2 separate regions of the Homo sapiens genome follow, and region 1 is linked to region 2. Evidence: promoter capture Hi-C in human tissues and cell types (Jung and others, 2019). All regions are on one chromosome and are shown on one strand. Each heading gives the region's core, a stretch centred on a gene start or on the middle of the fragment in contact. The rest is flanking DNA. Distances are from core to core; before and after follow the strand shown.

Region 1 (6,833 bases), core at 2,875-5,374, 520 kb after region 2:
TATTAGCACCAGATAAGCTGGGTATCTTCTCCGTTAATCTGTTTTTCTTGTTCTTCCATTTTAATTTCATGTTGGCCTATATTTTCCTCTTGAGGATCCATTTTCACAACAACCACTAGGACAGAATTGCAATCCAACTTGAATGCTTATGAGCTATTGGAGACACAAGGGTGAGGTTATAATTTATCTCTTCTTTTTCTTTAGAAAAAGATCACAGAAGTTCTAGTGTCCGTTGCTTTCTGCTCAGGCTTCCTTTACAAGGTGAAAATGAGACTCTCAAAAAGGCTGTAAGCTAAGATGAGTATGTGTTGTCTCTTCCCAGGGCCCCTTCTCATGCCTGGTAGACGTTCTCCTTGAGGAGGTTGTGAGAGGAAAGGCAAGCGGTCTTCATAACTACTTTTAGCTCTAGTTTTATTTACATTTGCTTTAAGGGGCATTTATCTCCTGACAAAGCCATAGGGCTCAAGAGGGAAGTAAACAGTTAAGGAGTGTTTGTAGGGAAGTTTATTCCTGTGAGGGTTCAATAAATAAATGTTGACCAATTACGATAATTCCTAGTAGATGGTTATTTTATACAATTAGAGCACTGAGGCAAAACAGCTTCTTAATCCATTCATAGCATGATCAGTAATGAGCAATGGTACAGAGCTATGTGAGGTGACAGAAAGAGCATGGGACTGGATGGCAGGAGGGAGAGCTGGCTTCTAGGGCTCTTCTGCACCTAATCAGGGAGTTGGGCAACTTAATTCACTTTTCTGGATCTCAAAGTTCTCATTTGCTAAACTGGGGATGAAGGGAGGTGGAGAGTGAAGTGGTGATGCCTAGCTAATTAAAATGACATAAATGTTATACACTTTATAGAGCACTTTTACATATTTTAACTCAGAGAAACTCTAGGAGGTGGGAAAAGCACAGTATCATTTTACAAATAATATCAGAAAACTTATTTGAAAATGAGAAAACTGAGCTTAGAGAGGTTCAAGATTACCAGATTTCCATGTGGATTTAGCCAGACTGCAAACCTGGTTCTTTAAAGGTACCTTTGGTTGTAAATGGCTGTGGTTTTCTTGTTTTCTGGTCTTGTTATTACGTTAAATGCTGATGAATTCCAGTTTTTAGATCCCTGGGTAAATGCCAGGTTGAAGAATGTTAAATTTATCACAAGTTACATATTTTTTCCTCCTTTAAAACTGCATTAGTTGTTTTCTCTGACCCGGTGATTCATAAAGTGTGGTCTGGAACCAGCAGCAGTAGCTGAATACTTAGAAATGCAAATTGTCAGGCTGCACGCATCTCAGACCTGAAGAATAAGAAACCCCGGGGGTGGGATCCAGTAATCTATGTTATATCAAGCCCTCCTGGGGATGCTGAAACAGCTAAAGCTTGAGAACTATTGCTCTGACCTGGATATACTTGTTCCCCTTGTAACTGGCTGAAATTTGACATTTCCCAACCTGCTTGCACTAAAGGCTATGAAACTGCAACTTTGAGTCCTATAACCCAATAAATCCACAACATGCTGTTAAACCCATTTTTACAATACATGAACCTGTAACTGTATCCATCATATAATCAAAATAGTCTATAAATTTATTAGTCTTTGTTACCTCTTTTAAGTCTACTTGGAATTTGAAAACATTTTAAAAAATTGTTATCTAGGTCCAGCTTATCATAAACCTTGAGTTAAGTTGGCTCTAACTAAAAATAGTAATTTATAATAGAATGAATTCACTAAAAGTGGTTAATGTTTTTAATCCCTTAAGTCAAGGCACTTGACTATCTACTCCCACACTTGAAATATCAGTAACTCCAGAAGGAAATTAATGTGTACATGAAACCTAAACAAGACCCTCCTTTCCTCCATTTAGGAAGGAATAGCTTCACAAATAATAAAAATATGCCATAATAGATGTTTAAAATTTATCTTTTAATATTTATTTTACAAAGACAAATATAGCATTTACTAATTAGTTATATTATTTTTATGTCAAATGTTTGGGTTTTGGAGGCATTAAGATTTTAATCCAATACATTCCCTTTGATTACCTTCTACGCTTAAAGTTTGAAAACCTTGGAGATTTCTGGTGGAAAATATGGACTCTGACCCCAGTGTGATACATTTCTATTTAAATGACTGTGTGTGTGTGTGTGTGTGTGTGTCTGTGTGTGTCTGTGTGTCTGTGTATCATATGGCACCTATTACCATAAGACATCAACACTCATTTAAGTGTTCTCTGAAATGTTTTTATACATATCCCAAATAAATTTTGTCAATACAATTTCACAAAGAGAGAAACACAACATTGTCTTTAAAGAATAGAACCTTACACATTTCCGAAATACACTTTTTTTTCCATGTTGAAATAACACAGAAATCATCTTTTACCTCCTTGAGAGAAGGCAGCCAGGGAGAACAAAATCCACATACATGGTGCTGCTTCTGTTATTAATTTGCTTATATAAGCAAGACTGTAGGCTTTCCGTGGAAGTACAAGATTTGCAAATCACATGACTGATAAAATGGCATATAGCATACACAGCATTTGTAGAGTGACAGCTTCTGAATGACAGATTTAAAGAAATTAGGAGACTTCTGCCCATTGCAGCATTCCAATTATTTTATTTATCCTCTTTAGATTTTCTTTTGGCACCACTTACTGAAAAATCTACTTGCAGTTACATGAAGATTAACTATAACATATTTCTACCATGTTTTTGAAAAGATATAGGAAGAATAAACTGAAAATAAAGATTCCTGACAAAATGGCATATAATGCTATAGAGTTTTAATTTTATTATACATATAAAATACATATATATGTATAATGTCATCATATATGTATAACTCATATCTACGAGATGAGGCAATATTCATTTTCTGGAAAACAAATGTACATATACATACACACATGCTTAATTTGTTGACCTCTTAAACTTTGGGATAATTTCTTATAGCTTTATAAAGACCAATTACAGTGTTTCCCCAAATATTTTACTTTGAGATATCAACATTGTCGTTGTTTCAACCTAGGATTTGCTCACAACATCAACACCAAATAAATCTTTCAAAAAAAGGAAGGACTACTCTTTCTGCCAACAGCAAACACCAAAGCCAACTCATATTCATAATTACTCATCTTTTGAAACATGTTTTGACATGAATAACTCAGCAAAGCTGAGTCACTGCCAAACAGTACCAACTTGTGCAATGGCACTGGAAGAAATGTGATAACTACAGAGGCAAACAGCGACTCTGAGAAAATTGAATCCACCCTCATTTGATCCAGGTAATAAAAGTGCTATTTTCTGAAGAAGCAGGAAGGTTTTGTTCTCTTATTTTTTCTCTTTTTTCTTTAAGATTCCTTAACAATTAGTAAAATGTGTTTAGTCACAACAATAGAAATTTTGTCAAAGGTATCATGAGAAAAAAAGAACAATGGCTTCCTTTGGCTTTTCACCACAAGGATCTCAAAATATAACTTTGCAGTTTTCTGAACACCAAAACTCAGTTAAAATGCAAAGATTTAGGCAAAAAAGAAAGAAAGAAAAGAAAAGCTTTGGGGTAGGAAGATAGTAAATAAGAAGAAAAAAAGAATTTAACTTCTATATGATTAAGGAAGAAAATAACTAATTTTTCATTTTATTAGAGAAATGTACACATATCTGTATTCTCATAATATACCCAGGTGTATTTTACTAGTTCATTTGCCAGGTGGGTCCAGTCCTTTGATCAGAATCCCAGTCTATGGGTGGGATCAGACATAGACTGCATGCCCCAAGTATTTAATCTGGCATAAAGTGATAGTTAATAGCCCAGTAGATCACATGGGCTACAGTTCCACCCACCTTATTAACTAAACTGATAACTTGGCACTCCACACATCCCCTACCCTGTTTTACCCAGGAGCAGGAGAGCAATGATAAGAAAAACTCGGAAGCATTTTGAGTGAATGCTGTAAAATCAATATATTCTGCACCTCGGTAGAGAGATGTTTTGGCAAGTTTTTCCAGAAGACCACCTCAGTTACCTCAGTTATTCCAAGACTAACAAGCAAGTCTCTAAGTCAGTTATTTCTGGTTGCTACCTTCTGATGGTCATTTTTCCTTTTTTCAGAAATATGTACAACAGCTCCCTGAATGCAACTGTTATGATGCAAAACAAACTGCATGATTAGGAAATTGAGCAAATTCAGGTGCCTTTCTGTAAATTACTGACTGCTTTCTCTCTAATCTCTTAATCTACTCAGATCTCTTTGAATTATTTCTCTCTCTACAGCTTTTGCGTCGCTCTCAGATGCTGTGCCACCCAGGCATTAAATAAATGTGCAGTTATCTTGTCTCCTTGATAATTAACAGAGATGTTAAGGGCTAGTACCAATTCAGTGGCATGGGCTGGAAACCTTCCATTACCTGGTATGTCATTGTTTATGCTCTATTAAGCAGTTTTCATTTCACCTTATGGGCCCATATAACATCCAAGCTAGTGGTTTCTCAAATTACAGGTGGTACTACAGATTTTATTAAATAGCCTCTTCTTTTTGTTTTCAGAATCATCTTTATATATATTGCAGACAATCTGGAAAATTAAATTGGGCAATATATATGTCTTAAGGTTTTCAGTTTTCTCTCTTTCTCTCTCTCAATTATATCCATTGTTTTACAAGATAGAATAATGGCAGTGTTTCTCATTTTCAAGATAATATATTTTATTGTTCTTGTTTATCTTTTTCCCAGATTATCATTGGTGTTTTGACTCATTTTATCAAGAGATGCCTTTAATTTTCCAAAAGTTCTTTTGTTCTAGCTTTATTTCCATCATTCTTACATACAAAATATGCATGTTGGCATCATGCAAAAGTCAGTGGATCAGAGGCATCATATGGAGCGGCTTAGCTGCTCTCAAAATCTTGTTATGCAGGCTTTAGTCAGACAGGCTAATACAGCTGCCAGAGAAGGGCTGAACACTCAAAAGGCTTTAGTCATCAAAATATACAGTAGAACAGTAGAAAATGTACGTAAGTATTCACTTACCTGCTTTTGATCAACAATTATTTCGAGGTCTTCATCACTGCTTAGTTTTCCATATCCTTGTTCTTTACTTTTCTTGTGAAAGAATAATTTTAAATGATCATTTAGTTTCTATCCATTAACAATCTTAATTCTACTTAATATTTTTAAAGATAAAAGTCTTAGCCTTGTTCACCAGTCATAATGCATCATTCTTTATATAAATTGCTCATGTACAACAGCAAATGTTTTTATTGTTAAACTGCTGTCTTATAATTATTCATTAACAATATCTGCTTAGCCTCCACTACCCAACTTATACCTTTAATCTTTTTCTCAATATTCTTATGCTTCTCTTTTTAGTTCTATAGTATCAGAAAAGATTCTTTAACACTTTGGGATAAATAAGCAATTCTTTGAAGAGCCTTAGCACATTTTTCTTAAAGATTGAAAGTTCATTTAGCTTTATACTCAAGACTTCCAACTATTCAATGTTTTGTTTTAATGTCTTACATATTTTTAAGAATAATAGAAGTATTATGCAACTCAGATAATGAATCTTCAGATTTTCAACATTTGCTCACAAGTCAGATGAATACTGACATTGGAAAAACCAACTCAGAAATAATTTTAAAGAGATAACTAAAATAATTTACAAAATTAGGTATTCGAAAAGTTGGAGGACAGACTATTTTAAGAGTTTATGTAAATGCACTTTTTTTTTTTTGGCATTTTGTCATCATTTATTTTGTCCCAATGACCACTCTCCATCTATTTCCTCCATTGCAAAATCTATAAATTCTAAAGTTAGAAAAGGACATAGATAATGATAATCATTTTACACTTGTGCTACAGCAGAAAGATAATATGTCTGAGCCTTTTTTTCTCCCAACGCAACGGTTGATGAGAATACTAGAAATGTCATGTTGTGTCTTCATACCAGCAACAAATGAAAAATAAAAACCACTACATAGTTAGCTGTAGTTCAAGGTTATTTATTTATTTTAAAGATTCTTGCTTTAGTTATTAACTACATCAACTTGAATTAAGGGAATTAAAAATACTTATGTTTGCATCTACTGTGTCATATTAGGGTCCTCATCTCATTCAGGGAAGAGATATATCCTTCAGTGAACATGATATAAATCTTCACACTGTGAGCACAATTCTTATTTTTTCCCCATAACATTCAAAAACCAGATTTACACATTTTTTTCCCGCAAAAACATATCTCCAATTTTTGTGGGTTTTTTTTTTACTGTAATAAAGAGATTTCTGCATCTTCCAAGTATTAGGATGCATAAATAAAACACAAATTCTCATTTATATATTAATGAACTTAGCCACTCAGAACAGAACAGATGGCCACAGCATTTCTCCCTATTATTATTCTTGTCCTCATTTGAGGTTCCATTTCAAGATTGATGGAAAACAAAAAGAACAAGGTTGGTTTCAGTCAAGCTGACTTCCTTCCTATCATTTTGCTTTTGTATTCTTTTTGTTCACTGGTTGCCATAAGATTTTGTCTAGAGTGTCTCTAATGTAAAACACTTAGAAGTGCCTTTCCAAATATTGATCTGTATACGTACCAAGTAGCTCATTTGCATGACCCGGTTTCTGGACAAAAGGGCATTAAGTAGAGATGGAATGTGGGTCCTTCCATCCATTTCACTGTCAGACATCCCAGAATTCTTTATGCCACTGGCAGTGGCTTCCTTGCCAGAACTTGCTGACCAGAGAACCACAGATCTTGCCCAGGAACAGCATTAATAATGTACAACAATAATTGAAGTATTCCTGAATCATTGTCTTGACTTTGTAAACAT
Region 2 (6,491 bases), core at 862-3,361:
TGAGAAGCTGTATAAAAACATGGGACAGACAATAATGATCATGCTGGAAAAACAAACATGCTTCTGGCATGTCTTGGATATTTTACACACATGCTAATGAGTAATTGAGGGTCACTCCTCATGCCCTCGAACTAAGTTAATATGGCTCAGGGGAAAGAACATGGACTTTGGAAACAGAGGGGTCTTGCTTCGAATCCCAGTTGAGTTACCTAACACCTACATGACCACTGCCAAGTTACTTAAAACCTCACAGACAATTTCCTTACCTGTGGAAGTAGATAATGGTGTTACTGTGAGATATAAGTAGAATAACTTACAGCACTGCCCCAGCCCAGAAGAGATATTTTAATAAATAAGTCCATAACAGACGCAGATTAAAATAGTCAGCAAGGTAAAGAAACTGATGATACAGCCAGCTGACTTCAATAACATGCCTAAGAGAAATCACACCATCTCAGGCAGTATTTGGTAAGGCCAGAAGAATGTCCAACACTTAGTTCCAATTCTTAATTTTCAAATTGCCCCAGAGTCTATTTTTAAAGTGTAAAAGTATGTGCTGACATACTTACATGCCAATTGTTTAAAAGAAACAATTCTACAGGTTAACAAAGGCCAAAGACTCGGAATAACTTCCTAAATAATGTTTATGGGCCCACAAAGAGTTGAACCAACCTAAAATATCACAAGCTGTATCAATCAGTTTTATAAATGTATATACAGAGGGTTGACAACGTTCAATAAGATGATATTTTAAAAGTTTCTATTTCAGTTTCAAATTCATCTACAAACCAAAATGCAACATGGAAAATCTTAAAATGTCTTTAAGCCACATACTGAAATATACAGTAAATTTTCAGAGCCTAGGATCAGTAGTAAACCAAAAGCCCCAAACTGAAGAGTATTAAAATGAACAATGGCAGAGACTCGAAGCACACAATTTTGAATGCACCTAATCAGCCGTCCTCCTCTCCGACTAGAAATAACTTCCCTCCCATCTTAAATTAAGTAGCGTGTGTTCTGTCTCTGTCCTAGAAGATGTACTTAATGGTCATAAACTCTGTTTGCAACACTGAGACGGACTCATAATAAAAGTTCTAATCAACAATTAAATTTTGAACGTTTTAAGAAAACTTCCCGCTAAGCCACACGCCAAGCTACTTTGTCGGTGGCTGAGAGGGAGAAAGATGCATCCTTATCCTTTATGGAAAGAGAAAGGGAAGGAGTGGGAGAAAAGGGAACACAAGGAGACGAAAAATAACAAAGTATTGCTTGTATAAACAAATGAAAGCCTGGTTTCAAACTTTTGAAAATTCAACGTTCCCTTAGCGAATAGCAATACATATCAAAGTATATGGCAATCATCTGTGTTCTGAAGCAGAAAAAGGTGGAGAGAAAAGCAAAACACTTTTTATTGTACTGAACTCACAAGTATTCAAAATTCATCAATCCCCTCCCATCCCCAAACTCTGGACATTATATCATTTCCAAAATAAATCTGAAACAAAACCATTGGACTAATTTTGGACTCAGCGTAGAACTTTTATGAGTCTTCCAAGCACTCTCCACCCAACAGCCCTGCTGGGCAGTCCCGAATACCCGTTATTTTGGGGGCACGCACGGGCTCGTGCTCTGAGTTCCTGGAAGGAGGCCTCGGGGAGTGACGAGAAACCAGGGGGGTCTGCAGGACTTGGACCGCCGACCGTTCCTCGCTCCCCGGGGCGAGCGGTCTGGACCGCCCGGGAAGTGCCTGCGCCGGCGGTCGTGGGGCCAGTTCCCGCGTGGCAGCTGGGCGCGACACAGGCGCGCCCTCCTCGTCCCTCCCGGGCAGCGTCGGCCGCCCGAGCCCGGGGAGACCCGCCCCGCCCCGCGCCGTCACCCGGGCCCCGTTCCGCAGGGGTGGCTCGCGGCGCCCCACGTCCCTGCGAGAAGCCCGGGATCGCTTCGCGGGGCGCACCGACGAGCCGCCGCTCGCGAGCTCGCCGCCTACCTGGAGGGAGCTCAGGCCCGCGTCGACCGCGCGCTGCCGGTGTCCGCTGGGCGCTCAGCAGCCCCTGGAGCGCGGAGCCGGCGTGGAGAGCGCAGCTCACAGCCGAGACCAGAGCCGCCGGCCACACCCAGTCCCGCACCTCCCAGCAGCCAACTCCGCGGCGCGCCGGAGCCGGGGCGGGGACGTGGCTGGAGGCGCGAGGCGCGAGGCACGAGGCGCGCGGGCCCGGCGGGGACGTGCCGGGGACGCGCAGACCCTCGGAGCGCGCGCAGCCCGGGCGGGGGGCGAAGGGAGCGGGCGCCGCGCGCAGCTTCTGCTTCCTATTTTCTCTCTCGTTTCCTGCCAGAAGGAGAAGAAAAACATTCATTCCCGGGCAGTTTCGTTTTCTTGTTGGTGTGGCGCCGGGGCACGCTGCTAAGTAGCGCCCGTCTAAGTGGCGTGGCCAGTTTCCTTTCCGGCGCTGACAGGCGCCAGTTTGCTTGTTAGCAGGATCGAAGGGCAGAGCTAGAAGACCCCAAAGGCCCCATTTAGGTTTCCCATTCTGGAATTCTAAATGTCAGAAAGTAAACTGAAGCCCAGAGTTGCACAACCTTGCGTTGCAGTCCCCGCTCTTCCATCACTAGTTGTAGGACCGTGTACCGTCTCGGGCCTAAGTTTCGTCATCGCCAAAATAAAGATACTGATACCTGCCTCATAAAGGTGCTAAGCATATTAAATGAAGTGATGTTTGCACGAAGCCTGCCTCCAAATAAATGGCCAATACTTGGAAGTTATTGTTCCTATTGTCATTGATAAAACTGGAAGGCCTTCCAGATATCCCTGCCAAGTCGCTCTTCTCTGCATGAGTTAAACACCACATGCATCTCAATCGAGTTTTTTTTTTTTTCACATTTATCTGGGTGTTTTATGTTTAAAATGTCATAAAATAAATGCATCTATCCAATTTGCTTCCTCTGAAGTCAGTACCGCCTGGGAGCATTTTTCCTCTCCCCACCCCCATTTTTCTTCTGAGTTAATTCCAGTTTGACAGACTGTTGCTATAGCATTCCTTCTCTGACGTCAAACAATTTAAAGAAACAGCCCTGGGTAGCGAAAACTGCAGAGGAGTTCTTTGTGGAGTTTCTGTGCCGGAGAAATGTTCGAACAATATCATCAGATAACTTTAACAACCCCTCAGCCTTCCAATCCTCCTTCTGTAGCTGCTTCCCACTATCACCTGGAATAAATCTATTAGTCCCTTGAAAGAGGTGATGCCATGATAAACACACCCTGTTTGTGACTGTGGGGAAAATGTGACCGTTTTGTATAAAAGCCAGGCCGTGACAAAAATAGAAGCAGCTGTTTCTATTTTCTTTATCCACAGATAAAGAAACTGTGGATAATTTTTCCCCCAAAATTTTCATTTTTACTAATATTAGGAGCATTTTTCCATTAAGAAGAAAGAAATGCCAAATATTCTGCATATCAAAGTGTCAGAAGAGCTCGTTGGGACATGAGTGTTTTGCATCTGTAACTATTTATGTTTTAATGATTAAATCCTGAGTTTTATGATTGTCGTTTTTCGGAGGAAGCAAAGGGAAATTGTTAAAGAGTGCCTATTACGGACCATGCTCTCTGCTTTCTTATACTGTACTTAATCCTCATAATTACCTTGAAGTGTGAATTTTATCCCCATTTTACAGATAAGCAAACTGATGCCCTGGTAAGATTAATTTATCGGAGTCACGAAGGTATTGGTAGAGCCCTGCATGACATCAGATTGGATCAACTCCAAAGCCCACATTCTTTCTTTTTTTTGTTTGTTTTTTTGTTTTGAGACGGAGTCACTGTGCAGTGATGTGATGTCAGCTCACTGCAACCTCCACCTCCAGGATTCAAGCGATTCTCGTGTCTCAGCCTCCCAAGTCTGGGATTACAGGCACAAGCCACCACGCCCGGCTGATTTTTTGTATTTTTAGTAGACACGGGGTTTCACCGTGTTGACCAGGCTGGTCTCAATCTGCTGACCTCAGGTGATCCGCCCACCTCGGCCTCCCAAAGTGCTGGAATTACAGGCGTGAGCCACCGATCCCGGCCCCATATTCTTTCTTTAGATTCTTTTCTGCCTTGTTCCTGTGCACTAGCATTTACCAGATGTTATAAAGCTTTGAGAGCTGGTTGTTGGGTTAAGATTATTTGTTGAAAAACAAGTTGCTGGTATTTAGGAAAACACAGTGGGAAGCAATGAGATAGTCTATTCCAGAAAAGATGAGGGGAAATATAAATGAACAGCTCCTAAACATAAAATACAAAACCTGAAAAGATGTAACAAGAATTTGACTGTCTTTTAAAGAGTTTAAAAGAATGATATCGTCAATCTTCCTGAAAATTTAATGTAGACAAAGAAATTACTAGAAGAATAAAGTCCAAGTACAGAAAAAGGAAAGTTTAATTATTATCCAAACGAATCTACTTCCAAGAATATTGTATTTCTGTTTTGCCATACCTGCTCCATATTGTTCTGGAAAAAAAAAAAAAAACTTACTTGTTAAAGGACAAGCCTATACTGAAAATCTGAAAGTGGAGCTGATTAAAAGAATTTTGTCATCAGGAATGATTTCATAAGAGCACACTAATGCATCTAAGTGATCCAGCAATTCATGATTTTTCCAATGATAATGAAATCCACGAAGAACAAAAGAGAGAGACTGGGAAGGGAGGCAGAGAGAAAGGTGAAGGGGTATGCTATTAACATTTCTGATGCCTGCTGGTTTGTGTAGACAATTGTAGAGATGTATCCTACTTCTGAGGATTAAGCCCCATGATCTTTTGTTTGGGTGCCACTGGCTGATAATTAGATTTCTAACTCATTAGGCCCATGTTCTCAAATCCTACTCTATTAAGAGAGCATAGTGGGGTCCCTACTAGAGAACCTTTGAAGACAAAATCCTTGTCCGTTTCATCTTTGTGTCTGCCATAGTGTTTAACAGAGCACCTTGCATTTGCTAGGTACTCCACGAACAAATAAATGAGTGAATGCACTTGGCTGCTTGTTTTATGCAAATAACCTGCATACCTCACCCCATCCCACACGCTAGTCAGAATCATAGGAGAGGAGAAAGTGGTCATTGCTTTTCTAGGAGTTTAGTTACAGTTTCTTTTGCAGGGTGTTTTGCTTCACTATGATCAAGTTCAGAGAAGCTCTGCTCTTGGTCCTACATTGGATGAATCTGAATGCTGTACTCAGTGAGCTACCCTGTAATCCATAGTGCCATAGGTTTGTATATCCTGCTTTTAAGTTTTACCCTAGAAATGGTCTATATTTTTTTCTGAGCCTACCTTGCTCTCAGACGATGCCAAGCACACCGTGAAGAACACAGCTATTAAAGTGTACAATATTTCAGTACCGCCCTGTATGTGTTGTATGCATTCCAATTCTATTGTGTTTGAAATGAGGCCAAATTATATACATACAACATCACAACTACCGTAACAGATTTTATTTCACCCACAACAAAATAAGTTATAAAATATTAAATGGAAATTATCTAACAGGATCTACAGCACAGTTTCCCAAGGACATGAGAAGCAATTCCCTAGTAGATTCTGTAAGAAGTCAGTCTATGTGTGGTTTCAGACAGACATCCTTGATACAGAGTAGTCATGCCTAAAGCCTTCCCTCTTGCTCACACACAATGCATTTTCCATATCAAAGTACAGTTTGTACTTTGAGTCACCTTTGCTGTACTCCTCTGACACTGGTGGTACAAATCAGTTATAGCTTTTGTTTATTTCCACTCAGGTTCTCGTTAACCATGGGAATTTGGAATCTGTCATCCAAGTGCATCCCAGTGACCTTAAGAGAGGGTCAATGATATCTGTCACAGGCATGGGAGAGGGAACTAGAAGCATGCAGGCATATATCTGCTGCTCTATGTCCTGTCATTCAGGTCCCTGGAATCAGGGAATTCAGGGAAATCAGGGAATTCAGGTCCCCGGAAAGGGACATGTCAAAGTGAAAAAACACTAAACTGCACATCAGAAGACTTGATTTAGAGCTTTGGCTCTGGTATTAAATGTCTGTGTGATCTTAAGCAGATCTTACCCTGCCAGCATTCTGTCTTAATTATATAAAATGAAGGTGCTGAATTCTAATACGATTGACAAATAGACAACACTGGTGCCATCTCTCAGACTATGTCCGGGGATGACTTCACTAATCAATCGTGGACTCTTGCCCTGTAAGCTTCATTTCATCCCAAGAACTCTTCTGAACACCACATTTTCAAAAGGAACTCTGATCTGTTTCTGTTAAGTGAGTAAAAACATGAGTTTAAAAATGAGATGACATATTAGTTATCTATTGCTCTATTCAAGTCACCAAACTTAGTGGATTAGGACAACAACAATTATTTAATTTGTTCATGAATTTCCAACATGGGCAGGGCTTGGCAGACGTGTTCTCTGTTCCATGCTGGCTCAGATAGTTTGACTCTTATTAAGATGGCACTCTCACATGGCTGGC

Evidence for each region. The method cuts DNA at HindIII sites, captures the fragments that hold promoters and counts their contacts. A contact is called where the count stands out against the background at its distance.
Region 1: a contact is called between a fragment that was not itself captured here and the fragment with the promoter of GNB4 in region 2, in 1 of the 25 tissues and cell types used here (hippocampus).

Annotation. Positions count from the first base shown.
Region 1 is chr3:179,966,563-179,973,395 of GRCh38, forward strand. It overlaps PEX5L (peroxisomal biogenesis factor 5 like), which reads right to left. Exons shown (of 15, transcript NM_016559.3): 2 at 5,032-5,103. The region is part of intron 1 of LOC124909463 (a long non-coding RNA gene); the gene reads left to right. Among named protein-coding and RNA genes, the nearest start is that of PEX5L, 67 kb to the right of the region's middle. The HindIII fragment of the contact is 3,312 bases long and covers 2,469-5,780 here.
Region 2 is chr3:179,449,359-179,455,849 of GRCh38, forward strand. GNB4 (G protein subunit beta 4) reads right to left here and starts at 2,112. Exons shown (of 10, transcript NM_021629.4): 1 at 1,988-2,112. It also overlaps the pseudogene RPL29P34. RefSeq lists silencers at 1,683-2,092, 2,133-2,282. The HindIII fragment of the contact is 18,692 bases long and covers 1-5,171 here.